Regions from separate parts of the Homo sapiens genome. Here all the other regions are linked to region 3. The links are contacts of gene promoters, found by promoter capture Hi-C in blood cells and fetal thymus (Javierre and others, 2016). All regions are on one chromosome and are shown on one strand. The core of a region is centred on a gene start or on the middle of the fragment in contact, and the rest is flanking DNA. Distances in the headings are between cores, read along the strand shown.

The links. Contacts are between HindIII fragments. The CHiCAGO score rates a contact against its expected background, and 5 or more counts as called.
Region 1: a fragment that was not itself captured here is called in contact with the fragment with the promoter of CNTN5 in region 3 in 1 of 17 cell types (endothelial precursors); the score reaches 6.0 in endothelial precursors.
Region 2: a contact is called between a fragment that was not itself captured here and the fragment with the promoter of CNTN5 in region 3, in 2 of 17 cell types (naive B cells and endothelial precursors). The highest score is 5.2, in naive B cells.
Region 4: a fragment that was not itself captured here is called in contact with the fragment with the promoter of CNTN5 in region 3 in 1 of 17 cell types (erythroblasts); the score reaches 6.9 in erythroblasts.
Region 5: a fragment that was not itself captured here is called in contact with the fragment with the promoter of CNTN5 in region 3 in 2 of 17 cell types (erythroblasts and endothelial precursors); the score reaches 6.1 in erythroblasts.
Region 6: a fragment that was not itself captured here is called in contact with the fragment with the promoter of CNTN5 in region 3 in 1 of 17 cell types (endothelial precursors); the score reaches 5.9 in endothelial precursors.
Region 7: a fragment that was not itself captured here is called in contact with the fragment with the promoter of CNTN5 in region 3 in 2 of 17 cell types (M2 macrophages and endothelial precursors); the score reaches 6.1 in M2 macrophages.

The regions. Positions count from the first base shown.
Region 1 is chr11:97,213,478-97,217,143 of GRCh38, reverse strand. No RefSeq gene overlaps it. Among named protein-coding and RNA genes, the nearest start is that of LINC02553, 44 kb to the left of the region's middle. The HindIII fragment of the contact is 2,825 bases long and covers 272-3,096 here.
Region 2 is chr11:100,926,957-100,930,812 of GRCh38, reverse strand. All of the region lies in intron 6 of ARHGAP42 (Rho GTPase activating protein 42), which reads right to left. Among named protein-coding and RNA genes, the nearest start is that of SNORD13I, 5.4 kb to the left of the region's middle. The HindIII fragment of the contact is 3,084 bases long and covers 553-3,636 here.
Region 3 is chr11:99,019,536-99,023,436 of GRCh38, reverse strand. It overlaps CNTN5 (contactin 5), which reads right to left and starts at 2,488. Exons shown (of 25, transcript NM_014361.4): 1 at 2,167-2,488. RefSeq lists a silencer at 1-111. The HindIII fragment of the contact is 2,136 bases long and covers 2,023-3,901 here.
Region 4 is chr11:97,267,115-97,270,675 of GRCh38, reverse strand. No RefSeq gene overlaps it. Among named protein-coding and RNA genes, the nearest start is that of LINC02553, 9.3 kb to the right of the region's middle. The HindIII fragment of the contact is 549 bases long and covers 1,364-1,912 here.
Region 5 is chr11:97,438,942-97,442,837 of GRCh38, reverse strand. No RefSeq gene overlaps it. Among named protein-coding and RNA genes, the nearest start is that of LINC02553, 180 kb to the right of the region's middle. The HindIII fragment of the contact is 1,008 bases long and covers 1,362-2,369 here.
Region 6 is chr11:97,249,104-97,253,120 of GRCh38, reverse strand. All of the region lies in intron 1 of LINC02553 (long intergenic non-protein coding RNA 2553), which reads left to right. Among named protein-coding and RNA genes, the nearest start is that of LINC02553, 8.5 kb to the left of the region's middle. The HindIII fragment of the contact is 2,555 bases long and covers 869-3,423 here.
Region 7 is chr11:97,141,285-97,145,048 of GRCh38, reverse strand. No RefSeq gene overlaps it. Among named protein-coding and RNA genes, the nearest start is that of LINC02553, 120 kb to the left of the region's middle. The HindIII fragment of the contact is 3,775 bases long and covers 1-3,228 here.

The DNA.
Region 1 (3,666 bases), core at 435-2,934, 1.8 Mb after region 3:
CATATTCCCCCATCCTCTTATAAACTATGCAAGCTGCCTCCTCATATGAAGCTGTTGCCTAAAGCTTGAATTTTTAATACCTTCCCAGATTATTTTTGTATGAGGCACAGCAAATGGAGGTGATCAAAATAGATTTTGTATGAGTCTTCTGCCTTATCCTTAATTCACCAGGATTGACACAGAGCTAGACCTGGCCTTACATAGCTCCTTCCTCAATGCACATAACCTAACAGAGCAGCTGATATACTAGAGAAACACGAATTTGGAAGCTTAAATAACACCACCCTATACATTTGAAGACTACCGTACTTCAAAAGGAAACTAGATAACATACACTATTTAAAACAGAACTAATGTAACAGAGGAATCATTTAGAATATTTATAGTAAATATCAAAAAAGATAGGATATTGGCATGATACAAGAAAAACAAATTATAAACTATAAATTGGGTGTAAAATATATTAATTGAAATAAGGAATACATTGGTAAGTATGCAGAGAAATCCAGCTTGGAGGGGGCAGGGAACAGTGAATTAAAAGACTAGATTGAATCTCTATCCTAGAAGACATCAGAAAAAAGAATGAAGGGAAAAATCTATTTCTATCTATACAGATAGATAGAGATACGGATATATATAATGACAACTAAGAGATGTGGTAGAATTGAAACCGTTAGTATATATGCTAGGTAGGCATAAGAAAAGGAGAGAAGATTTTAAAAATATGAGAAAAGAGCTGAAAGCGTGGAAATAAAGCCAGTATTAAAATAAAAACACCTCGAGATTGAACTGTTAAGGAGAAAAAAAAATTCAAATTTAGATTATGGAACATTTTAAGAAGAAAGAAAATGAGAATATTATAAATACAAAGAGAAAAAGCAGGTTACTTCTAATAGAACAAGAATCAGTGTGAAAGGAGACTAGTAATAATAAAAATAATGGGGGGAAGGAAGAAACTTTCAAAGGTAATGGAAATGTCTGTGGCCTTAGTGGTGATAATTTCTCGGTGGTACACTTATTCCCAAACTCATCAAGTTTCATACATTAAATACATGTAGCTGTTCACATACATTATACCACAATAAAATGTTTAAAAAAATCAGAGTGACATCAAAGTTTTCATTAGTGACCCTTGATAAGAAAAAAATGAAACTCTTTTGTACTGAAGAAAAATAACTTTGAACTAAATTTTCAATCAAGTGTGGATTGCAATAAAAATATTTGCACACACAGAAAGTCACAAATAATTTGCTGCATGAAATGAAACACTTTTAGGAGGAAATGCTGGAGATATGAGAATTAAGGGTATTCAAGTGTTTTGATAAAATTTATTATTGTTCATAATAAAGGTAAAATCAAAGAAACAGAAATGATAATATATACACAAAATAAAATTTAATACAAATAACTTTTGGTGACTGGAAATGGAGGGGTGAAATGGGGGACATAAGGAAGGATAAAAGTACTTGTCTTGTTGGGGAAGTATATAGAAAATGATGTATTTAAGAAGGTAATTGCAAAAAATAAGCATGAATATAGGTCTTTAACAGCAACAACCTAAGAAATAAAAATAAAATTACCAATTCCTAAATCAGCCAAAGAAAGTATTATTGATGAAATAAAAAGGGAATCAAGAGAGATTACAATAAATAGAATATATAAGTAAAATGCCTAATAAATCCTAATTAATATTACATTAAAAATGTGTTAAATCACTTAGTACATATAGATACACTTTTTAAATTTTTTAAAGCAGTTTTAGGTTCACAGAACAATTGAGCAGAAAGTACGGAGTTCCCATATATGCACTACTCCCACATATGCATAGCCTCCCATTATCAACATCCCTCACCACAGTGGTACATGTTACAATTGATGAACCTACATTAACACATCATTACCACCCAGAGCCCCATAGTTTACATTAGGGCTCACTCTTGGTATTCTATAATGACATGTATTCTTGTATCCACTATTATAATTTCAATTGCTCTAAAACCATCTGTGAGGCCAGGCGAGGTGGCTCAGGCCTGTAATCCCAGCACTTTGGGAGGCCGAGGCGAGCGGATCAGGAGGTCAGGAGATCGAGACCATCCTGGCTAACAAGGTGAAACCCCATCTCTACTAAAAATACGAAAAATTAGCCGGGCGTGGTAGCGGGCGCCTGTAGTCCCAGCTACTCGGGAGGCTGAGGCAGGAGAATGGCGTGAACCTGGAAGGCGGAGCTTGCAGTGAGCTGAGATCACACCACTGCACTGCAGCCTGGGCCACAGAGTGAGACTCCGTCCAAAACAAAAAAAAAAAAGAGCAAAAAAACACCCCTCTGTGCTCTATGTATTCCTCCCTACCCCCAACTCTTGGCAACTACTAATCTTTTTTTACTTTTTTACCATAGTTTTACCTTTTCCCAGAATGTCATGCCATATAGCTGGAATTATATAGTATGTAGCTTTTCAGGATTAGTCTTTCACTTACTAATGTGAATTTAAGATTCCTCCATGTTTTTCATGGCTCGATGGTTCATTTCACTTTAGCACTGAATACTGCTCCATTGTCTGCATGAACCACAATTTACCCATTCACTTACTCAACAACATTTTGGTTGCTTCCAAGTTGTGTCAAAAATGAGTATAACAACCATTCTATAAACAACCATGTTCAGGTTTTTGTGTGACATGTTCAGGTTTTGTGTGTTTTGTTTTCAGTTCTTTTTGGTAAATACCAAGGAACATAACTGCTGGATCACATGGTAAGAATATGTTGTTTTCTTAAAAAAAAAAAAAAAAAAAAAAAAAGTGACATTGCCTCATCCACACCCATGGGCAAATTCACTAAACATGAGACTTGCTGCAAAAAAAATTTAGTTGTCATTGTCTCACGGTTACCTGGCCAATAATTAAAACAAAGATGTGCTTTCCTTGAGAATCTGAAAATATGTATATCTTAACACAAACTTTTAATGTTTAATATTGCTTTATTATTTTTCCCAATTTATAAAAGCAATACTTAATTATTGTAATTATCTCAAAAGTTCAGTAAAACATTTTAAACCTCGGAGAAAAATTTTCTCACAGTTCTACCGCCAAATGTCAAGCTTCACAAATACCCAAATGTATCTTCATCTCGTCCTTCCAGGTATCTCATGTAGAAGGCCAAGACTACATTTGTAAGCACAACTTTACAATAAATTTTTTCATAAATTATTAAAACTGTTTGCAGGATATGTATACCATGATTTACTTAACTGTTCTAATGTTGAAATATCTTTGTACATAAATATATGTCTGATTTGGGATTACTTCTGTAGTTTAGGTTCTTAGAAGTGATATCTCTTGATACATGTTGTCAAGTTGATTTCCAGAAAGCTTATACTAATTTACACTTCCATTAGCATTATATGAGAGTGTTTTTTCTTTTTCCCTTCATATATTCTCATGTGTTTCAGGAGCATCATTCAAACTGCTTGGCAATACTTATTTTTAATATTAAAATTTGGTATTTATACATCATGCTACACTTTTAAGGCACTTTTAAATATACCAGTCTGAACTATCTAATCAATACCATGTGGTAAAGAAATATTCTTACTACCAACTTCTAAATGATTTATTTCATTTGGTGGATTAATATTTAAATAGTAATCCCAAGATTCTAGCAACAATATTA
Region 2 (3,856 bases), core at 845-3,344, 1.9 Mb before region 3:
GCAGATTCACTGAACCACATGTGGGTCGTCCTAACCAAAACTCTTACGGACGTATTTTGACACAGATTTTGGTAAACCAATATTTCCCACTAAACTCTGCTTTTAAATTCTTAATCATGTTCTAAAAAATAAGATCCTGGTACCTTCATCTTATTCATATTATTCTATATCCTCAGCATTTTATATGCAGCCAACTTCAGTCAAGAGGAAAATAAACCCATTGGCAGCTTCTAGCAGAATTCAGATTCACTTAGTAGCAGACAAATACCTTTTAATCTCACAACGCATGCTGAGCACCCACTAGGAAATGTACAATCCTATGGAAGGCACATAAGAATTATATACAAAAAAATCATACACCTTTTCCTTTTTATTCCACATCTTTGGAAGCAGCATTTGGGTTTATTGAAGATTGCATTATGAAATACCTGCCTCTAGATGGCAGCAAAGTTAAACGTTTTTATCGGTTTGAACATATACTTGTTCATTTCATCCTCTACAAAATTCCAAGATGTGAAATGAAAGGAACTGAACAGGACAGCCTGAAAAGCTTTAAGAATTGCACTTCCCACATATCATTTTCTTTGGTGAATCTGCCTGAATGGCTGGGATGTGAGGGAAAAACTATGGTTTCAGTTTACCCTAAAGTAAATTTGACCTTTAAAATAATAACAGTAACCGTAATAACAACTACAAACTTCTAGATAGACGGAATAGGTTTGAATACTAAGAAAGTTCCTTTTATCACTGACGAAATCTCATATAGCACTTTATTATTCCCAAGGGTATAGAACCAAATTACTTGTCGCTCCAATAACCCAACCAGTTGGAAAAACTGATACCATACTTAACAGATAAATAATCTTTTAAAATAACCCCATTACAAGACAGAAAAGGAACAAATATTCAAAATTAAAAACTCGTGCTTCATGTACACTGTCATGAAAATTGAAAGAAAACTCACAGAATGGGAGAATATATTTACAAAAATCATTTATCCCATAAGGGGCTTGTATGCAGAATATATAAACAACTCATAATTAAATAATAAAAAGACAAATAACCTAGTTTAAAAATAGGCAAAGAAATTGAATAGGCATTTCTTGAAAGAAAATATATGAATGGTCAAAAAGCATTTGAAAGATTCTTATTAGTCATCAGAGAAATCGAAATCAAAACCACAGTGAAATCTAAGTTCAGCTCTCTAGGATAGCTAGACTCAAAAAGTGAGATAATAGCAAGTGTGTGTGAGGGACATGGAGAAACTGTATCCCTCATATATCACTGGTGGGAGTGTCAAGGGGTGCAGATATTTTGGTAGTTCGTCAGATGGTGAAACATACAGTTACCACATGACTCAGTAATTCCTCAAGAGAGAGAAAAACATGTATCTACACAAAAATTTGTACATGAACGTTTATAATAGGGGTCCCCAATCCCTGGGCTGCAGGCCAGTAAAGGTCATTTGTGGCCGGTTAGGAACCCAACTGCATGGCAGGAGGTGAGACCTGGGTGAGCTCTGCCTCCTATCAGATCAGTGCTGGCATTAGATTCTCATAGGAGAGTGAGGCCTATTGTGAACTGTGCCTGCGAGGGATCTAGGTTGCCTGCTCCTTATGAGAATCTAACTAATGCCTGATGATCTGAAGTGGAACAGGTTCATCCTGAAACCCTTCCCTCCTCACCAATTTTTTCATGGAAAAATAGTCTTCCATAAAACTGGTCTCTGGTGCCAAAAAGGTTGGGGACCGCTGGTTTATAACATTATTCATAATAGTGAAAAGGTACCTATCAACTAATATTTGGATAAGCAAAATGTGGTCTATCCATACAATAAAATGTTATTTGGCCCTAAAGGGAAATGAAGTATTGATGCATGCTTTCAGATGGATGAACCTCGAAAACCGCATCTGAGTAAAAGAAGTCAATCACCAAAGGGGCCACGTATTACACAATTTCATTTGTATGAAAGGCCCAGAGTAGGCAAATTAATAGAGACAGAAAATAATTAGTGGTGTTTCAGTATTAATGGTTGTGGGGTATACTGGGAATGATACCTAAAGGATGTGATGTTTATTTTTAAGGTGATGAAAATGCTTTAAATTTTTTTGTGGTGATCGTTGCACAGATCTGTGAATATACTAAAGTTCCATTGAATTGTATAGTTTAAATGAGTTGTCTGTATGGTATGTGAATTGTATCTTTATGACTTTTTTTTTTCTTTTTTGAGACAAGGTCTCACCCTTTCACCCAGGCTGGAGGATAGTGGCATGATTAGAGTTCACTGCAGTTTTGACTTCCCAGGCTCAAGTGATCCTCCCACCTCAGCCCCCAAGTAGCTAAGACTACAGGCGCATGACACCATGCCCAACTAATTTTTGTAGAGGTGGGGTTTTGCCATGTTGCAAAGACTGGTTTTGAACTCCTGGGCTCAAACAATCCTCCCGCCTCGGCCTCTCAACTTGCTGGGATTACAGGTGTGAGCAACCATGCCTGGCCTGAAGTTGTTTTTAAAAAATAAAAATAAATACTTCCCAAACACAAAGCACCATAAGGCACTATAAGAAATCAAAATGTTATATAGTTCCATCCTTCATATTTGGCCATCTAAACTTCTAAGAAGATTAGAAAAGTAGGGCAAAGTCAAGGCATCAATTTTCACACTGTAAAAGTGTCAGGCCTGTGAGTTAAATCTGTAGTCTTTGCAATTCCCTGCCTGGAGGAAACTTAGAGATAAACATCTTAAAGGATACCTTCAAAATGACTACAGATTGCTTTAAGTCTAATGCATAGATGTGCAAAGGAGTTCATGGCATGAAAACGAAAGCATATATAAATCGAATCAAATAAATAATGAGAAACTTGAAGATAAAAAGAGAGCCAAGAATGGAAAGTGGCCAGTCAATGCTGGCCTGGAAAAGACTACTTTTAAAATGGGAGGACAGAAGCACAAATGAATGAATGGACAATTACGTGCACTGATTAATAAAACAAAGCCGTGGCCATGCATCGCCTCAGCACTGAAAAGCGTCATTGGAATTCCTGAAAAGATGGATTTGTAAGCATTCAAGAGGATGGAATTCAGATGAAGAGGCCTGAGGTACACTTTCCTGGTAAAGGAACAGAGGCATTGACAATAGCCAGCTTATCTTTACAGCTCAATTGTAATAGAGAAAGTACTGTCACCAGCAAGCTGATAAAGCCCAGCAGAAGCTACATGATTGATTTCTACCAAACACATAGGATGCAGTTTTCTTACTTTTACAAAATTCTGTTCACTAAGTTCTATCACAAATTTCTAATTTTCAATAACAATACCCTGAACTTTAGATTTATCCAAGGACCATTACAGATTTTATTTTTACTTAAAAGTTTTGTTGTTAAATTTTTAAAGAATGAATGCCCTTAGATTTTAAACAGGATAGAAATTTAACCTTTAGTCCTACAGAGTTTCGAAAAACAATGATGCTAACCTTATTTTTTTCACTTTTACTAAATTAAAGCTAACTGATTACGTTGAAAAAGAAAAACACATCAAAATGTTAAACTTTCAAAAGCTGCTCATCTATATACTAGCTGATGGACTTTTAAAAAAGACTTAGCCAGTAGCATTTCAATCTCAAAATTATTTAAGCTTTTTAAATTTAGAGACTCTGAAAAGTATTTTATAGTATACGTCTTGATAATAACAAGCTATAACATGTTAGCAAATTAGGCAAATTTTCTTCAGCGAAAAAATTTAAATTGAATTTAGCAGTCCAAGGGAAGAGCATCAAAAGCACTATATTTTAGCTTATATATGATGATTTATTTTCATTTTCTGCATTAACTTTAAACATTAATACAGAAAGACTAT
Region 3 (3,901 bases), core at 1,239-3,738:
GGTCCATATTGCTAAGTCAGCTGTGACAGACAATCACACTCCTACCTCTACCCTGAAAGTGGTCAAGATTTTCTAAACTGTGAAGTAAAAGAGACATTTAAAGAAATACATATCAGCCAAACCTGGTACATTTCTAACAGATAGCGCTACTTAATTGGACACATAAGATTGAAGTAAATTTTTACATGCTACTAATTTTAATGATTCATCTTACATAAACATATTCTATGTATAGATTCATGATTTGATTTCAGGTTGGCTCCCTGACTAAGAATTGTTTCAGACCACCTAATACTTGAAGTACTAACTGCTCACCTTGAGAAACATTCAGGTATTTCAGCTATTCATTTAAAAATTCCACAACTGTAGCTTTTTGGATGTATTTCCAAAAGCACCTTGGTGTGCATGTGCCTCACAACTTATAGACAAAGTCCGGCATTTAGTTAATCTATGGGATTATATTTTTATATAACTTTTAAGAATCTAACTTTCTGTTCAGTTGTCTATGGAATCAGAAAGAAATTAAAATTAGCAGTTTTTCTCCTCCTTTCTCAATTTTCAGAAGTTTTAAATAATTTAAAGGATACACCAATTCCTAAGCAAAAACACTGGCACTTGTAATAATCATTTCACTGACTTTCTATTTTCAGATAGGCTTTAATATCATTCCCTCACACTCCAGCTATTTGTCAAATTCTATTCTTTATATTGAATTTCCCTTTTTATAACTTTAACTCTGATTTTTTTTGCCTTTTTCCCTTTAATGGACTTAGATGATCTTTTTATGTAATATCTTTAATTTGTTATCATTAGTTTTATATGACATATTCTTACTCATACCTCTTTTCGATTAGAGTCAGAGTAAACTTATGCCTGTTAAGTTTAAGACTCAGCATACTAGTCCCCACTTAACTTAGAATAATTTGAGCATGAAATAGGAGAATATGCAAGCAACCATGAGAATTGCTCAAAATTGACTACAGGCATTTTCAAAAACAGTTAATGACCTAATCATTATTTTTTAAAATACTGAGAGTCACAATATTAATCATAATGAACTCCTTTAAGCTCCCTGTAATGGTCATAAGTACTTCTGTAATTCTGTTGCAATTCAACAGTAATCGATGATATCTGCATTAATTTTTAAATTTGACTATTTGTCTATAATTTTAAATGCTAGTATTCTAATGAACATCTACTTCTTTCATCCTTATTTCCACAGTCGTAATTGAGAATCAAAGTAGAAGTATTGACCCTCTAAATGATTTTCTCTTTTAAATTAAGAAACAAATGAATGAAATGTAGGTAAGGCATTGAACATACAACAGTTTAAAAGTTTTTTGCTTCTCACCTGCATTTAAATTACCACATGAAATTGTATTTTTCTTGGGAGAACAGTTCTAAGATTTAAAAGTAATATAATTCTAAAATATTTAGTGGATTCTGGTTCTTTCGCAAATAAATATAGTTGAAACAACTTATTGTTCAGGTCATCAGAGTAATTCTCAGGTTTGTGTATGTGCAAATTGATATTCTCTTCCGTATATCTCCCTACAAAACATGGTAAGGATGTCTGAACATAATTTTTTAATCTATCACAATCCTATACAACCTTTAGAAAAAAGCTCAGCATAATCCAAGATACAGTTTTTCTCAGTCTCACGAACTTTGTAGAACTCCACTTATAGAGCATCCCTACTGAATTTTAACAAGTTATTGCAATGCCAGATGCCCAATTATTTAGTCTCGGAAACTCATTGCTCAAACATAAGGCATACATTCAGTACCTGAGAACGGCATCCTATTTTCCAAACATTTAGTTTCTTTTGTAGAAACATCCTCACTTTATCCTGGCATTTATTGCCTTACAATTTGCAATTTGCGTGTAGGAATTGCTTACTCTTATTTTGGGTGGCATTAGGAGATATACAAATAGGTTATATTTACTCTTGTTTCAACTTTTTGCCATAAAATCCCAGCAGGAAATAAAGTCGTGTTTTGTTTCCTTTATTTAAAAAAGCTTCATCTTACAGTTTTTACATTCTGGCAACATGGCAAGAAAGGATGGCTTTGCAGAACAGAGTGTGTCAAAAATCCTAAGTGGCTGGGAGATGAAGTGCACAATCACAGAACGCAGTCACTGGCAAAGGAATGTCAGCCACTTACCAATAAGATGCCAGACTCCACTGTCCTTCCTCTGTGACTCTCAATTCCTGTCTCCCATCCTCCTGCCCATCAGCACAGTTCAGAGAGAGCGGTTCCTCGGGTCCTTTGCAGCCTGTGGCAGAGGCGAATTGCGGAGTTCTTAATCATTCAGAGGGAATCCTCCAGCTTGCCCTGCCTCTCGCAGCAGACGGGACCCAGGTAACGCATCCTCTCCGCCCCGAGCTTTAATGGCACTTTGGCTGCCGCCTTCTCGCAGTTCCGCTCCCCCACGCCGTAGTTGGTTATATTGGGAAGTAGGTGCGGCGCCTCCTGCGGCTGGTGTGTTTGGGGCTCGCGTGTTTTCCTCCAATGCGTCCGCGCGCCCTGCGCCCCGCGCCTCTGACTGGCTGTGTCCTCCCGGGGCGGCCCCTCGCCCCTCCCCGGCCGCCCGCGCTGTCACCGGCGCCCGCGTCCAGCGCCTCACTGCCTCTTGCTGCAAAGGTTCATTGAGCATGTCCCTGGGCTTAACGAACTGTGCGCCTCCCGGAGGGTGCTCTGTGTTTCTCCACTCGTCTCACTAGTCAACCGGCATTTTCCTTCCCTGCTAAGTACAGAGGACCTGCCCCCCTTCCCCGAGCGTTTCTGCTCTGCAACCCCTCCGTATTTAACATTCATAGATTACAAAGCAAACGTGCTGGCTGGAGTCGGCACGGGAGATCCAGGCGAGAGTCCCTTCCTCCGCTCCTGTCTTCACTCTGATTCCTGTAGTCCCCGGCTCACACCTCTGACAGCAGCAGCACAGACTGACGCGTTCACTTAGGTCGGTTTGAGAGTGGACTTTTTCACTTTGCAGAATTTTCTTAAGTCCTGAATGGGAAGCACTTCTCTTTTGTTTCTGCACTTACGCGTTTCATCTAAGGACTATCAGGCTCTGCCTGTTTATATTTCTCTTTGATTTGGGGTGTTGACTCAGTTCTAAAAAAAAGCGAAGGAATGGTCTCAGCAACCTTTTTTTCGGAATTTTTATATTACAATGGCTGTAATTGGAAAAATAACACAGGTAGTAAATCCACAGTGTGGCAGCTTTAGTGCCATTGTTCTGCCAGTCCTCCTCTCTACTTTTTTTTTTTTTTTCCTCTCAGTCTTTGAGTCGTTTTCCAATTCCCACGATTGGGCTGATGGTAATTGGGTATTTGTTAAATAAATTATATAACATTTCCTTTGCAATATATTTCCATAGAGAATGTGGTTTGCACCTGTATTTAATGGAAAGGAAATCCCACGTACTGCTTTCTATCTCTGTGTCTGTATAAGAAACTGCATGGGAGTCTAGGGTCGCACCCCGTGTCCGCTGGTGTCCGTTTTTCATGTGTGTTTGAGAGCAGCCTGACCCTGGACTGACGCTGATTCTTCTGCTCACTGAATCCCCCGATGGGGTCTGACTGGCTCTAATTGGCAAGGAGAGTACAGTGCCAGGCAGCCTGTAGCTGGAAGCCGTCTACCACTAGCCCTGTGTTCTTTCTCTTGCAGTTTTTCTGGTAATTAAAATTAGTCTTTTCCTGTTTCTTGGCTGCTTCTCATTCATCCAATGATGTACAAACACCCAGTCTCTGCTTTTAATCGCTATCCTCAGGATCTAGGCTGATTGCTTGTTCTGTAGCAAAGACAAATTTGTGTGCATTTAATACTTCTCCACTCTTCCATACTTTTTATATTCGTGTTCCTGCTTTCCAGTAACTAGGTTATCTTCTTTATG
Region 4 (3,561 bases), core at 389-2,888, 1.8 Mb after region 3:
GATGAAAATGAGGATAGATTTTTGAAGCATAAACATTCATTAAGAAACAAAAAATGGTCAAATATAAACAAGCTTTTTAAGTATATTCATTAGAAGTTAGAGTTCAGGCTTCTCTTATCTGTAAATCACAAGGAAATGATATTTGCAGTCTAGATAATTTGTGACTATTTGATACTCATATCAGTCAGTCAGGACTCTGTGGTTCCAAGTAATTAAACCTGACTTCTGTTAGTTGAAGCAGAAACTAAAGAAGGTATCATCTTTTAGAACCTAGCCACTTAAAGAATCAATACAGGTCTGACCTAAAGTGCTTAGTTGAATGATATTAACTCAAAGACTATGTATGTGTATTTGTGTGTGTGTATGAGTGTGTGTGGGCATGCTGTATAAAGGTAGATTATACATGTATGTATATGTCTAATATTGTAAGTGTGTGTATTACACATTGCATACAACTATCTCAGACATTCAAAATTTGCAAAAAAAAATTTACCTTTTTCTTTGAAATTCTGCAGTCAAGATATCATAATTTTTCTGCACAATATACCAGGAAACAAAACATTTGCATTAACTCAGATAGTAAGTAGACTATTACACCATAATGTATACTATCCTCCAAACTAGCCTGGTCAAATAATATGTTACATGTTTACAGATATCGTATGACTGTCAAACAAATATAAGGAAATTCTATTTCTGGAATGGTATTATGAGAAGCTGAATGGGCCACTCAGTGAAATGAACATAACTGGTAATAATAATTAAAAGTAATGTCTCTGGAATTATTCTAAAGGCATACAGCCAAAGACGACACATTTATTTAAGAAAACCTACTAAAACTCAGTAAGAACAATGAGACTGGCATTTGAACGATGACCTCTCTCTCTGCACTCTCAGCATAATGTGATGGAAACTTCCCTCAGGCAAATGTAGCTAAGAACACAACTATCCCCCTAGTGGAAGGGTATGATATCTTCTGAGGAGGAGCAAGCCAGTGGAATTTTTTTTTTTAATACTCCTTTCAGCTACTTTGCAGAGGCTAAATTCCAGGCAAGTTCACTGAAGAGGTCAGTGGCTCGCTTTATCCACTGAGCCCCACTCATGGGTGGGGGCCTTAGCTTACGGACAACATGCTGAGAACACCAGGCCCCAATGGCTTTCATACCAACTCATTTATAAGGAAGAGTTTCCCCACCTAATCTGTAGAAAAGAAGCATGCCTAGAAAACTAGGGGTGTACATGCCTTTCCAGCAGGGGTAACTCAGCGAAAAGTGGTCCAAAGTCCTGGACTGCAGCTCTAGGAACTTGGTTCAGAAATTTTGTCCAGGGGCAGAGGCAAGTCTCAACAGAGAACTCTGAAGCTTTACTGAAAAGAACTGACTTCACTTAAGTAGAGTCTGGCGAAGTTCAAGCCTAACGGTGCTTTCCAAAACATTGAAGGTGTTAATAAAGCAATTACATGGAGGTAACTTCATGAGAAGAATAAGATCAGTCATACTCAAGCCGCTTTAGGAGAGACGAGGGGAATGAGACAGCTAAGAAAAGCAATCCTGGAGTCATAAAAACCTCATATAGTGGCCCCAAATACTATCTGGGCAAAGGTCCTCAATTTAATTGGAACAGTCTATAGAACAATATATGCCCCATGGAATTTTTGAAAACAGAGTACCTGATCAGCAACTCGATGTGATCAGTGTAAGAAACAGTTAAAGATAGCTCTGCTGAAACTACTGTCATCCCAGGGTGACTTTGAACATGTCCAGAGCTATAACCTCTGAGGAGCGACTTCAGGAACTTCATGCCTTGGGACAAATAGACTTCACTAAAATATTCCAGACAGTCACTAAACAAACAGAAAACAACTACTGCTACTCAGAAGAATCAATAAGGAAATAAAAGATGTGGACAAGCTTATATACCAACCAGATGTAACAGACATCTGTAGAACACTGCACCCAACAACAGCATAGTACACATGAAACATTCTCCAGGGTAGAGTATGTGTTAGGCCATAAAATAAGCCTCAATAAATTAAAGTAATTGAAATTCTACAAAGCATATTCTGCAGCCACAACTGAATAAAATTAGAAGTCAATAACACAAAGAAATTTGGGAAATTCACAAATACATGAAAATTAAACAACATACTCCTAAATAACCAAATAATCAAAAAAGAAATCACAAGGGAAATTAGAAAGTGCTTTGGATATAAATTAAATGAAGACAAAACATACCAGAGCTTATCAGACGCAGTTAAAGCAAGTACTTAGAAATCTGTAGTTGTAAGTGCCTATTATTTTAAACAGGGAAAGATCTGAAATCAATAAGGTAACATTTCACCTCAAGACACTAGGAAAAAAAGATCAAATTCTACTCAAAGAAAGATTAAAAAAGCAAATAGTTTTGAAATTAATAAAATACAGACTATAAAAACAATAACGAATAAACAAATCAAAAAGTTGTTTTATTGAATAGCTTAATAATTATAAATATTTAGCTAGACTGAAAGAAGCGAGAATGCTCAAATTACTAAAATCAGGAATGAAAGAGAACACTACTAGACTTAAATAATAAAGTATTGTCAGGGAATACTATGAAAATTATGTGCTAATAAATTAGAAAATTTAGATGAAAGAACAAAACACTAGAAAAACAAATTGCTAACACTGACTCATAAGGAAATAGAAACTTCATATAGACTTAACAATGTTTAAAGTAATTGAATTGATATTTAGAGAAAAATAAACTACTCACAGAGAAAATACAAAAGCTCAGGCCCGTTTACTTCAATGGTGAATTTTAACATTTAAAGAATTAATACCATCTTTTTACAGACTCTTACAAAAAAATGGAGCAGGAGAAGTGTATACTCCCAATTCTCTGAGTCCAGTATTACCCCGATACAAAACCAAAAAAAGAAATAAAAGGAAAAGAAAATAGGAGAACTATATCTATATCTCTGTCTATCTATCTATCCATCTATCTATCTAGAGAGAGGCAAAATTTCTTAACAAAAAGCTAGCTCACCAGATCCATCCATATATAAGAGACTAGACATTGTAACAAAGTAAAATTTATCCCACAAATGCAATACTGATTTAACATGTAAAAATCTATTAATGTATGCAACATGTTAATGCAATAAAGGACGAATAAAATTATTGCAATAGAACCACAAGTAGCATTTAACAAAATCCAACACCTCTCCATTATGAGAATACTCAACAAACTATGAATATAAACAAAATTCTTCAATTTGATTTAGGGAATCTACCAAAAATCAATGGACAGCTGCATGCTTAGTGGAAAAACTGTATTTTCTTCATAAAATCAGGAACAAGGCAATAATGTTTTCTCTTACCACTTCTATTCAGTATTATACTGAAGTTTCTAGTAAGGGTAAAATAGCAATAAAGTGAAATAAAAGACACCAGGTTGAAAAAGAAGTAAAACTATGTATCTTTGTAGATGGCATGATTTTGCATATAAAACTCTTCTAAGACATTCACCACAAAACAAATTCTGCAAGGTTGCAGCATATAAGATTGCTATACCAATATC
Region 5 (3,896 bases), core at 616-3,115, 1.6 Mb after region 3:
ATTATTTAAAATAAATTCCATAATTTAACAACTAGAATTATTTCAGTTCTTAGCTGACGAGAATAGAAAATGAAATGAAGTCTTGACTGACTTATTTGTAAGCCTGAAAGTCATTCAAGTCATGAAAAACCAAAGATTAGAGACAATTGTTATTGTTGTTTTGGATTGTTCAAAGAGTGTTATTTAAATTTTCTACTTTTTATTTCTGCTTGAGACTACATTTAACTGAAAGGAATATATAAAAGTACTACAGAGACATCTGTTCTAGCTACATGTTATGTGTGATATCACATCAAATCCACATAATATAATTAGTATAAAACTTTTTAATGATCATTGATTCCTACTACATAGGAAACTACTATAAGTTTGAAAAAGCAGAAAATGTAACTTAAGATCTTATTTTCAGAAATATAATTCTAAGCAGATTAAATTTAGAGCATATAATTAGTATTAACCAAATTATTATAATACCATAAAACAAGTGCTGTATTATATACTACTATTTTATAAAGATCCACCATATCAAGGACACTATAACTTTATTTGTTCTGAAAAGTATCAGGTCAGCCATGGATGAATACAAATAGTTTCATTTGAATTAAATCAAATATCTTTCTTATTTTAAATATTATGTTAGTGTCTGTATGTCCCATAAATAGTAGCCTGTCTTTTAAGATTTTAGAAATTAGGTACTGCCTACTCCACTCACGTGGGCCTGTATTTGACATGTCATAAAGTTGTGTAATAGACTCTGTCTACTCAGTCTCCAATAGGGCCTGTTGCTTACTCCATGGTCATTTGCTTGTCTATTTGTTTTATATTAATAAATGAAACAGTATACAAATTTCTGTATGATGGCATTAGTTGGTGAATTATGGAGAAGAGGAGGAAACTGTTGAAAAATAAAATTTGGACTCTCATTTCTCTCAGTATTACCAAATGTATATGCTGAAATTAACCTCCAAAAAAAGTATAGAAAATGCTGTATGATATTTTATATATATGTATATGTGTGTGTACATGTGTATACCTATAGAGATGTTTATATATATACATGCTTATAGAGAGGTCATATATACTCTATTTACACCATAAATTAAGGGAAATTCTCTATAGTTCTGTCTCACAAATAAATTAAAGTTAGCAATCTATCAAAACAACCTGATTAAGGGCATTTGCTTTGATAGAGACTATTAAATATGTATTTTAGTATGTTTAGTGGTAAAATAAGTTAATAAAACATATGGCTAAAGGATAAGATATTATAAAAAATTAACAGGCAGATTTGAAAAGAACTAAGATAGACATTCAAAAATATAAATTGAGATCTAAATTTCAATACATATTAATCAGAAGCTTAGACACAGCTAAATATATATTTTTAATAATCTATCTTGGATTGCTGACATGGGTAAACTAAAGCAGATGGAGGAAGTCAAAATTAGTCATACTCAGGTTGAAAGAAAAGTAACAACCAAAAAAATCCTGTACTTATGTAACTTTTCCACTTAAAATTTATATACATATATATGTATGTGTTTGTAAGTATGTGTGCATGTGTGTGTAAGGGCACAGAAAAATATTAAATCATTCTTACACTTTATTTTATTCAGAAATAAATGGTAGCAAAAGAGCTAAAAAACTGAACTCTGATAGCAAATCAGGGAGACTTTTATTTCTTTTATTTTTTTGTTTTTATTTTACGTTAAGTTCTGGGATACATGTGCAGAATGTGCAAATTTGTTCCACAGGTATACGTGTGCCATGGTGGTTTGCTGTACCTATCAACTTGTCATCTAGGTTTTAAGCCTTGCATGCATTAGATATTTGTCCTAATGCTCTCCTTCCTCTTGCTGCCCAACCCCACCCCCGACCTCTGCCAACAGGCCCCGGTGTGTGGTGTACCCCTGCCTGCGTTCATGTGTCCTCATCAACTCCTACTTATGAGTGAGAACATGCGGTGTTTGGTTTTTCTGTTCTGTGTTATTTTTCTGAGAATGATGGTTTCCGGCTACATCCATGTCTCTGCAAAGGACATAAACTCATTCTTTTTTATGGCTGCATAGTATTCCATGGTGTATATGTGCCTCATTTTCTTTATCTAGTCCATCATTGGTACCCAGAGGATAATGGGATTATTGGGTCAAATGGTATTTCTGGTTCTAGATCCTTGAGGAATCGCCACACTGTCTTCCACAATGGCTGAACTAATTTGCACTCCCACCAACAGCGTAAAAGTGTTCCTATTTCTCTGCAGCCTCACCAGCATCTGTTGTTTCCTGACTTTTTAATAGTCACTATTGTAACTGGCATGAGATGGTATCTCGTGGTTTTGATTGCATTTCTCTACTGACTAATGATAAGCTTTTTTTCATATGTTCGTTGGCTGCATAAATGTCTTCTTTGGAGAAGTGTCTGTTCATATCCTTCACCCACTTTTTGATGAGGTCATTTATTTTTTTTTCTTGTAAATTTATTTAAGTTCTTTGTACGTTCTGGATATTAGACCTTTTTCAGATGGGTAGATTGCAAAAATTTTCTCCCATTCTGTATGTTGCCTATTCAATCTGATGATAGTTTCTTTTGCTGTGCAGAAGCTGTTTAGTTTAATTAGATCCCATTTGTCAACTTTGGCTTTTGTTGCCATTGCTTTTGGTGTTTTAGTCATGAAGCTGTTGTCCATTCCTATGTCCTGAATGGTATTGCCTAGGTTTTCTTCTAGGAATCTTATGGTTTTGGGTTTTACATTTAAGTATTTAATCCATCTTGAGTTAATTTTTGTATAAAGTGTAAGGAAGGGGTCCAGTTTCAGTTTTCCTCATGTGGCTAGCCAGTTTTCCCAGAACCATTTATTAAATAGGGAATCTTTTCCCCATTGCTAGTTTTTGTCGCGCTGTCAAAGATCAGATGGTTGTAGATGTGTGGTGTTATTTCTGAGGTCTCTGTTCTGTTCCATTGGTCTATATATCTGTTTTGGTACCAGTACCATGCTGTTTTGGTTACTGTAGCCTTGTAGTATAGTTTGAAATCAGGTAGCATGATGCCTCCAGCATTGTTCTTTTTTGCTTAGGATTATCTTGGCTATACAGGCTCTTTTTTGGCTCCATATGAAATTTAAAGTAGTTTTTTCCAATTCTGCAAATAAAGTCAATGGTAGCTTGATGGGAATAGCATTAAATCTATAAATTTCTTTGGGCTATATGGCCATTTTCATGATCCTGATTCTTCTTATCCATGAACATGGAATGTTTTTCCATTTGTTTATGTCCTCTCTTATTTCCTTGAGTAGTTGTTTGTAGTTCTTCTTAAAAAGGCACTTCGCATCTCTTGTAAGTTGTATTCCTAGGTATTTTATTCTTTTTGTTGCAATTGTGAATGTGAGTTCACTCATGATTTGGTTCTCTGCTTGTCTATTGTTGGTGTATAGGAATCTTGTGATTTTTGCACACTGATTTTGTATCCTGAGACTTTGCTCAAGTTGCTTATCAGCTTAAGGAGTTTTTGGGCTGAGACGATGGGTTTTTCTAAATATACAATCATGTTATCTGCAAACAGAGATAATATGACTTCCTCTCTTCCTATTTGAATATGCTTTATTTCTTTCTGTTTCCTGATTGCCTTGGCCAGAACTTCCAGTACTATGTTAATAGGAGTGGTGAGAGAGGGCATCCTTGTCTTGTGCCGGTTTTCAAAGGAAATGCTTCCAGTTTTTGCCCATTCAGTATGATATTGGCTATGGGTTTGTCATATATAGCTGTTATTATTTTGAGATGTGTTCCATGAATACCTTGTTTATTGAGAGTTTTTAGCAAGAAGGGATGTTGAATTTTATCAAAGGCCTTTTCTGCATCTAATGAGATAATCATGTGGTTTTTGTTATTGGTTTTGTTTAT
Region 6 (4,017 bases), core at 897-3,396, 1.8 Mb after region 3:
AGCCAGGATGGTCTCGATCTCCTGACCTCGTGATCCGCCCACCTCGGCCTCCCAAAGTGCTGGAATTACAGGTGTGAGCCACCGCGCCTGGCCGTTGTGAAGTTTTTGTTTGTGTTTTTCTTTCCTGGGGGAATAACTCAAACTTCTATCATTACAACTTCTAAGTCCCCGTAGGACCTTTCTTCATGAGACTACTTCTGTTTTTTTATTAATTACTATTATTGAAATGGGAACACTGAGCTACACCCAAGTGATTCTCCAGGTTCCAGACATAGTCCTACATGCTATATCATGCAGCCATAATCTAATTTACTCTAGGTTATGGGTATCAAGCATCTTGCCCAGTATAATGATTCAGAAGCATGCCAATTTAGTAGAATAAAATTGTCAGGGTGCACTCTCAGCTTCTAACTGATAATAATCAAACTATGTTTCTAGAGGAATTAGTTTTTCTGGAGCACTTTTATGTCCAAACACACCAAGTCCAAGACTGTGGGAATAGGAAGAAAAGTAATTTTAGTAGATTGTTGAGTATAATTATGAGAAGAGCCACCACACCTTAACCTTTAGGTTCTGGACCCTTGAAAACTGGGAAATTTGCAAAAGGTCACACCTTAAACTGGCTTTAAGGCATACATTATACCCTTTGAGAAGGCACACCAATATAATTAGTTGTTATTCTGCAGCTTGCTCTGTAATTGATACCAACAAACCTTTCTATAGTTCTAACAATCCATATGCTTTTGAGTAATGGAGCCCAGGAAACAACCTGTGAATGTCATCAGTGAAAGCCCATTGCAGACCGCTACAAGAGGCTTGCTTACGTGTAGAGAATGGGTCAGCTTTTTAACCTGATTGTTGATAAGCTTCTCTGCCCTGGAAAATCTTCAGTGGGAATTTACATGAATACAGATATACTCATAGTCTACCTATTCTGTAAATTCCTGTCTGGAAAACTCCCTTGTAACCAGACTTCAGGCTGTCCTTTCCAAGTCCTCGGGAAATTGGGCAACCCATTAATCACTTTTCATGAGTCCGTGAGGATCCCTACACTCCAAGCCATCTCTCATTCTAGACGGTGGAAACCCAGATACTTTGCCCAAAGTTCTTCTCACTGGCAAGTTTCCTTTTCATACTATTAGGGTTACCTGTAAGTGAGGTTGTAGTGCAGCACTATGTACTTCCAGCAGGGCTAAATGCCATGCAGACTTATTTATATGCCAAGTCTACACATGGTTAACTAGGCCCCCTGTTAACTCAACACAGGAAACTCCACATGAGGCCACACATTTAGGTATAAAGAGAAGTAGTGAAGTGTTTAGAGCAGGGAGCAGGTAACATATGAATATGAGCAATATTTGTATCCAACTTGCTTGTGCCTTCAAGACTTCCTTGGGTACATTCATAACATACAACTTTCATTTAATAGAAAGTTTATCTTTCTATGTCCAACTTTCTGATTGAGTGGATCAAATTCACATTTAATATTGGGCATCTTGGGTTTCACATTCATTTAATTTTCTATGATCAGGCACTATGGCTCTATCTTGATGCAATTGCAAGATAGAAACTATTTTGCTAAATGTAAAATTTTTGTCAGCAGAATATAGAATATACCATGACCTTATTTCAACATTTGTGGGTCTTCACTGTGATTCTTCTATTGGGAGTTGCTGAAGGCTTCAGACTGTATCTCGTTATGGTATAGACTGCTAAGGCACAATCTAGGCTGCTGGAACACATGACCCAAGTGGTATAGGTGCTTGCATCACAGCCTGGATGTGATACAAATCCTTTTTTTGCTCTGGCGCTGCTAAAACTGGCAGTATTATAGACTATCTGGTAAATGAATTAGAGGATTATACTCCTCCCTCTAAAATCTAAACATTTCTCTTTTCAACCTAATGGGTGGCTCAAAAAGCAGCAACTTGTCTTTCACTTTAAAGGGGATCTTATGACGTGCCCAGAAAACTGGACCCCTAGAATCTCCAAATATATGGCATACCCCTGACATTTCTCACAAATTCTAGTACTCTGTTTTCTAGGGTATCAAGGATGTTTCCAGTTTCCTGCTCGCCAGGTTCAGTTTGCATAAGAGCATCAATATATTAGAAAAAGGTGACATTCTGAAGGATAACAAGATGATCAAACTTCTTCAGGCTAAGTCATCACAGAAGGCATGACAGTTGATATAACCCTGAGCTAAGACAGTATTAGTGTACTGTTATTCTTGAAGAGATAAAAACAAACTGTTTCTGATGTCTTTACTGATTGCACAGAGTATAAATCATTTCTTAGATCAATAGCTACATAACAGTATTTTGTTGATATCAGTATGGAATAGTAGCTGTGACTAGTATAATTGATTGAATGAATTTAAAATTACCTAGTCATTTTCCAAGAGTTATTTGACTTTCTCACAAGCCCCAGAAGGGAACAATAGATATTGTAAGTTTCACTGGGGCAATGCACTATGGACTACTAGAGGGCTGAAGGAAAGAGGTGGACATGGGTTCTAAACTACCTGTTAGATACTGTACTCATTACCTGGGTGATGTGATCTGTACCCCAAACCTCAGCATCATTCAATATACCCATGTAACAAATTTGCACATGTACCCCCATATCTAAAATAAAAGTTGAAATTATTAAAAACAAAAAAGGAGCAAAAGAGAAGTAATAAAAAGAAGCAAAATGAAATAAAATAAATAACTGAAACAATGACAATAGTTGCCAGAATCTCACTACCCATGCAGTTTTGACACTGCTGGTGGAAGAATATTCTCTGAAATTCCCCCAGGGATGCATTATTGCCTTTGGTTTCAATATGGCTAAGATGACAGTTAAGGCATGGCAGGTGACAATTCCAGAGATCCTTCCTACCATGGTACCCCACTGATACATTAAGAAATCAACTGGAGATTCTGTAATTTAGTATCTATTCCTACTCTACATTCTGGGGCATAGAAAATAACCACAGGATAGGTCCATGGATCAACTGGGCTTATCCTGAGATTTATATAGACCAAGACTCCATCTGTCACCTAATTACCATGATCACAGAGGTGACTAGACAACTCCCAGCAACTTTATATACATGAAAATCAATTTAAGACTAACTCTGTGCTTGTATATACATCTCTGGAAAGTATTAACCCAATCCTTTCAAATTTCTATTTTTCATCACTTTACATAATCAAGCACTTCAAAAGAAAATACTGCCCTAGTGGCATGTCTACTTTCCTACCTTCAGGCAAGCATTTTCTTAAAGTAACTGAACAATGACTCTTGCGTTCTATAAAATTGTGCCTTTCTCATTAATTCATTCAACATTTATTTATTAAGCACATACTAACAGCTCAAAAAAACAACTAGGCCTTAAGGATAAGAAGAACAATATCTGCACCTTGCCCCAGTGAAGCTTACATTGTAGGTTGAAGATAAACGTACATAAATACTTAATTATGGTGTGAAAATAAAGACAAAGGAAAAGTAGATCAGTGATAACACATATAAGGGAGACATCATTTGATCTGAGAGGCACCAAAGACTTCCTAGGAAGCAGATTTTTGAGTTAAAGGCTGAGAGATGCATAAGATATTAAATCAAGTTTAGAAATGTGGGAGGGAAGAAAGTTCTATGGGGCTGGAAGATCGGTTCCAAAATTCCAGGCAGACAGAAAACTATGACAATCTTAAGGAAAGCAGATATAATGGAGGATTCTGGAAGTTATACATCAATGATCAGACACATACAAGTTTCAGGTTATCAAATAAAAGTTTAGTTTAAAATGAATAAATTTATACATACCAAAACATATTTTAGATGGTAGCGGGAAGTTAAAACTGAAGCCTGGAGTAAGTAGCTCTTGTATTTGCCCAGTGTTGGCAGATCTAGATTTCAGCAGTTAAAATGAATTAGGTTTCTTGTAATCCCAAGAGCTGGAGTTAATTTCAAGTTGCCCTCTTCAACCCTTCCCTGTACACAAAGTAAACTTGAGAGGAGAGAACAACATGA
Region 7 (3,764 bases), core at 92-2,591, 1.9 Mb after region 3:
CAGGTACCAAACATCTAAGGACTACCTCCAAAGCCCAGAATCATCTATAGTAATTCAAAGTATCTCCTTCTAAGCTGGCTCAGCATACCTACCCTGCCTCACTTACTTCTTCCCACAAAAATAATACAATAAAAGCTCTGGTCCATCCTCTCACTCCTCTTACTTCATGACCAACTCTGGTGGTTTCCCAGGTGGCTATGCATGGCATCACATGGTATACCGTCTTCTCTTGGGAACTGTGAGTAACAAATTATCTTCTCAATGGCAGTAGCCTCATAATCTGTTTGCTTGCCATTCCTGAATAAAAGTGAAATCCTAGATACATTTAAAACAAGGTGCCTTTCTCATATCTCTTAGAAATAGCAGGTAAGCAATCCTATGTCATATCTTCTGCCCCATCCCCTCCCAACATTGAGGTAACTGCTGGAGGTGAGGGCAGCATGTTGCAATAAGAAGAACCTAGGGTTTGGGAAGAACGTGGCCAAGGGTCTAATTCTATTTCTGCCACTTTCTAGCTGTTATGTTGAGTAAGTTATTCAACTTCTTCAAATATCTGTTTCCATATCTATAAAAGTTATCTACCTTGAAAAGTTGATATGAAGAAATAACATAATTTCTAACAGAGTATTGGAGATCTAGTAAGTACATTGCAATGCTGAATTATTTTTCTTTTAGGGTTCAATTAAAATTTATGAACAAAAATATGTTAGGTGTTGTTTTTTGAAGATCTAAAAGTCAATGTTAGGCCAATATCTAGAAGCTACAAGATGGATTTTGGCTCAGTATAAAAAAAAGAGCAGCTTCTGATTTCAGCTATAACATATACAGAACATGGAACTGTGACTCCATACTATAGGACAAAAGCTGAAAAAACCTAAAACTCAATGAGGTTTTTTTAGACTTATCAGAAAATTTAGGTCACAGGCCAAAACATCACCTCAGAACCTGAAGAGACAGGGAAATACAGAGAATTACAGTTGAGATCAGCTTACCTGGAGCAAAAGATGCTAGAGCAATATATTAGCAGGAATACAAATGGTAGCTTTGATTAATTGCTAGAAGTGAAATGTGGACTAACACAAAAGTGAGAAACTTTTGGAGAATGCAGTCCTTGGGTGGAGGCAAAGCACAATTTCATGGGTTTTATATCAAGGAATCTCACCGGGTTTTCAGGGTAAACAGCTAAGAAAAACTTCTCCTGTTTCTGGCAGAAGTAGATGGATAGTAAACATTTTGAAATATGGTCATAATATCCATATTTGGAGGGCATACGGCTAGAATATTCTCTCCATACCTAAAACCTGCTCAGCACAGAGGAAGACTTTACCAGAGCCTTATCTGACCTGAAAGAAGGGGAAGTGCTCAACTGTCACTCCCTCATCTTCCTGTATCACCTAAGGGGGAAAAAAGGAAGTGGAGAAACCCTTGTAAAGGTCACATGCTAGGGAGATGGGTCACTAAAAGACTAAGTGTAAATCATAAGATTTAGAATGCTTCTCATTGCACTACCTCTTACCATGGTGTCAAAAAATCTGCAGTTATATAACATTGGATTACAGCTGAAAGATCTAGAGAGGGCAGGCTTTATGTAAGGAAAAGATTTTAGGAAAACTCAAAGACATCAGGAGAAACAAAAAGACACTTTGGTATCTACAACTACAGCAAACATTAAGCATAGACCATCTACTTGTCAGAGTATACAACCATATGCTGAAAACCTATTTACCTCAGTTCCTATTACTCACCATATTACATAGTACATCCAACAAGAAATTATAAGACATGTCAAAAGGCAAGAAAAAACACAGTAAAAAGAAAGAAAGCAAGTATCCGAACCAGACTCACATATAGCACAGGTTTTTTTTGAATTACCAGACAGGAAATTAAAAATAACGATTGTTACTATGTTAAGGGCTCCATTAGTCTTGCTAACGGTCTATCAATTTTGCAAGTGGGCGAAGGATATGAACAGACACTTCTCAAAAGAAGACATTTATGCAGTCAAAAGACACATGAAAAAATGCTCATCATCACTGACCATCAGAGAAATGCAAATCAAAACCACAATGAGATACCATCTCACACCAGTTAGAATGGCGATCATTAAAAAGTCAGGAAACAACAGGTGCTGGAGAGGATGTGGAGAAATAGGAATACTTTTACACTGTTGGTGGCACTGTAAACTAGTTCAACCACTGTGGAAGTCAGTGTGGCGATTCCTCAGGGATCTAGAACTAGAAATACCATTTGACCCAGCCATCCCATTACTGGGTATATACCCAAAGGATTATAAATCATGCTGCTATAAAGACACATGCACACATATGTTTATTGCGGCACTATTCACAATAGCAAAGACTTGAAAACAACCCAAATGTCCAACAATGATAGGTTGGATTAAGAAAATGTGGCACATATACACCATGGAATACTATGAAGTCATAAAAAATGATGAGTTCATGTCCTTTGTAGGGACATGGATGAAGCTGGAAATCATCATTCTCAGCAAACTATCGCAAGGACAAAAATCCAAACACCACATGTTCTCACTCATAGGTGGGAATTGAACAATGAGAACACATGGACACAGGAAGGGGAACATCACACACTGGGGCCTGTTTTGGGGTGGGGGGAGGGGGGAGGGATAGCATTAGGAGATATACCTAATGTTAAATGACGAGTTAATGGGTGCAGCACACCAACATGGCAAATGTATACATATGTAACAAACCTGCACGTTGTGCACATGTACCCTAAAACTTAAAGTATAATAAAAAAAAGGTTCCAATGAAAATAGTAGACAACATAAAAGAATAAGTGGGTAATATAAACATAGAGATGATAGCCTAAGAAATAATCAAAAGAAAATACTGGAAATTAAAAATAGCCACAATGGAAATAATTGATTTGATAGGCTAAAACTAAAGAGATGGAAATTGATAGGCCATGCTAAAACTAATAAAGTCAAAGTGGCTATATTAATCAGACAAATATCACTTTAGAACATGGAAAATTATTAGGGCTAAAGGGGACATAATATAATGATAAAAGAGTAATTCTCCACACAGAAAAAAAATATTGATTATATATGCAACTAGCATTATTCTATGACAATATAAGAGGCAATTAGGCAAGAAGACTCCCACCTCTGTGGAACCTAATGCAGCAACATGGCTACACTGGATTGACCCAAGAAGGCAAGCAACAGCTCCTTGCAGACCCAAAGCTTGCCCAATGACCCTATCAAGGCAGCGAGAGTCCTACCTTCGCATGTCAGAGAAGAGAAAGACCTACACTGGCTTGACCCAGCAAGGTAAGCAGCAGCTCCACACAGACAAAATGCCTGCCCAGTGATCCAACCAGGCAAAGAAACTCCCACTTCTGTGTATTTTGGAGAAACACAGAGGATAGTGCTTGATGCAGGAGGTCAAACAGCCAATCAATTTACAATAGACCCAATCTATAGCTCCACCTAGACAGGTGGGCAATCCACAATCACACATTTCTGGGAAGTATATCCTTGAGTTCCACCAGAGCAACAACTCCATCTAACCTTGAATCCCTGCCTGCAATGCTCCCCAACTTCAGATCCCAAATAGCAGAATTGCCCAGTCAGGGAATAAATCATGTGACTTTCTGACCAGAAGTCATTGTAGTACTCAGCCAGCAGCTTCACCTGAGAGCAGAGCCCAGCCAGTGGTTTCAAAGGTGAGCAGAGTAGCACCATTTGACGTCAGAAAGAAAAAAAAAATGGTAGCACAGCC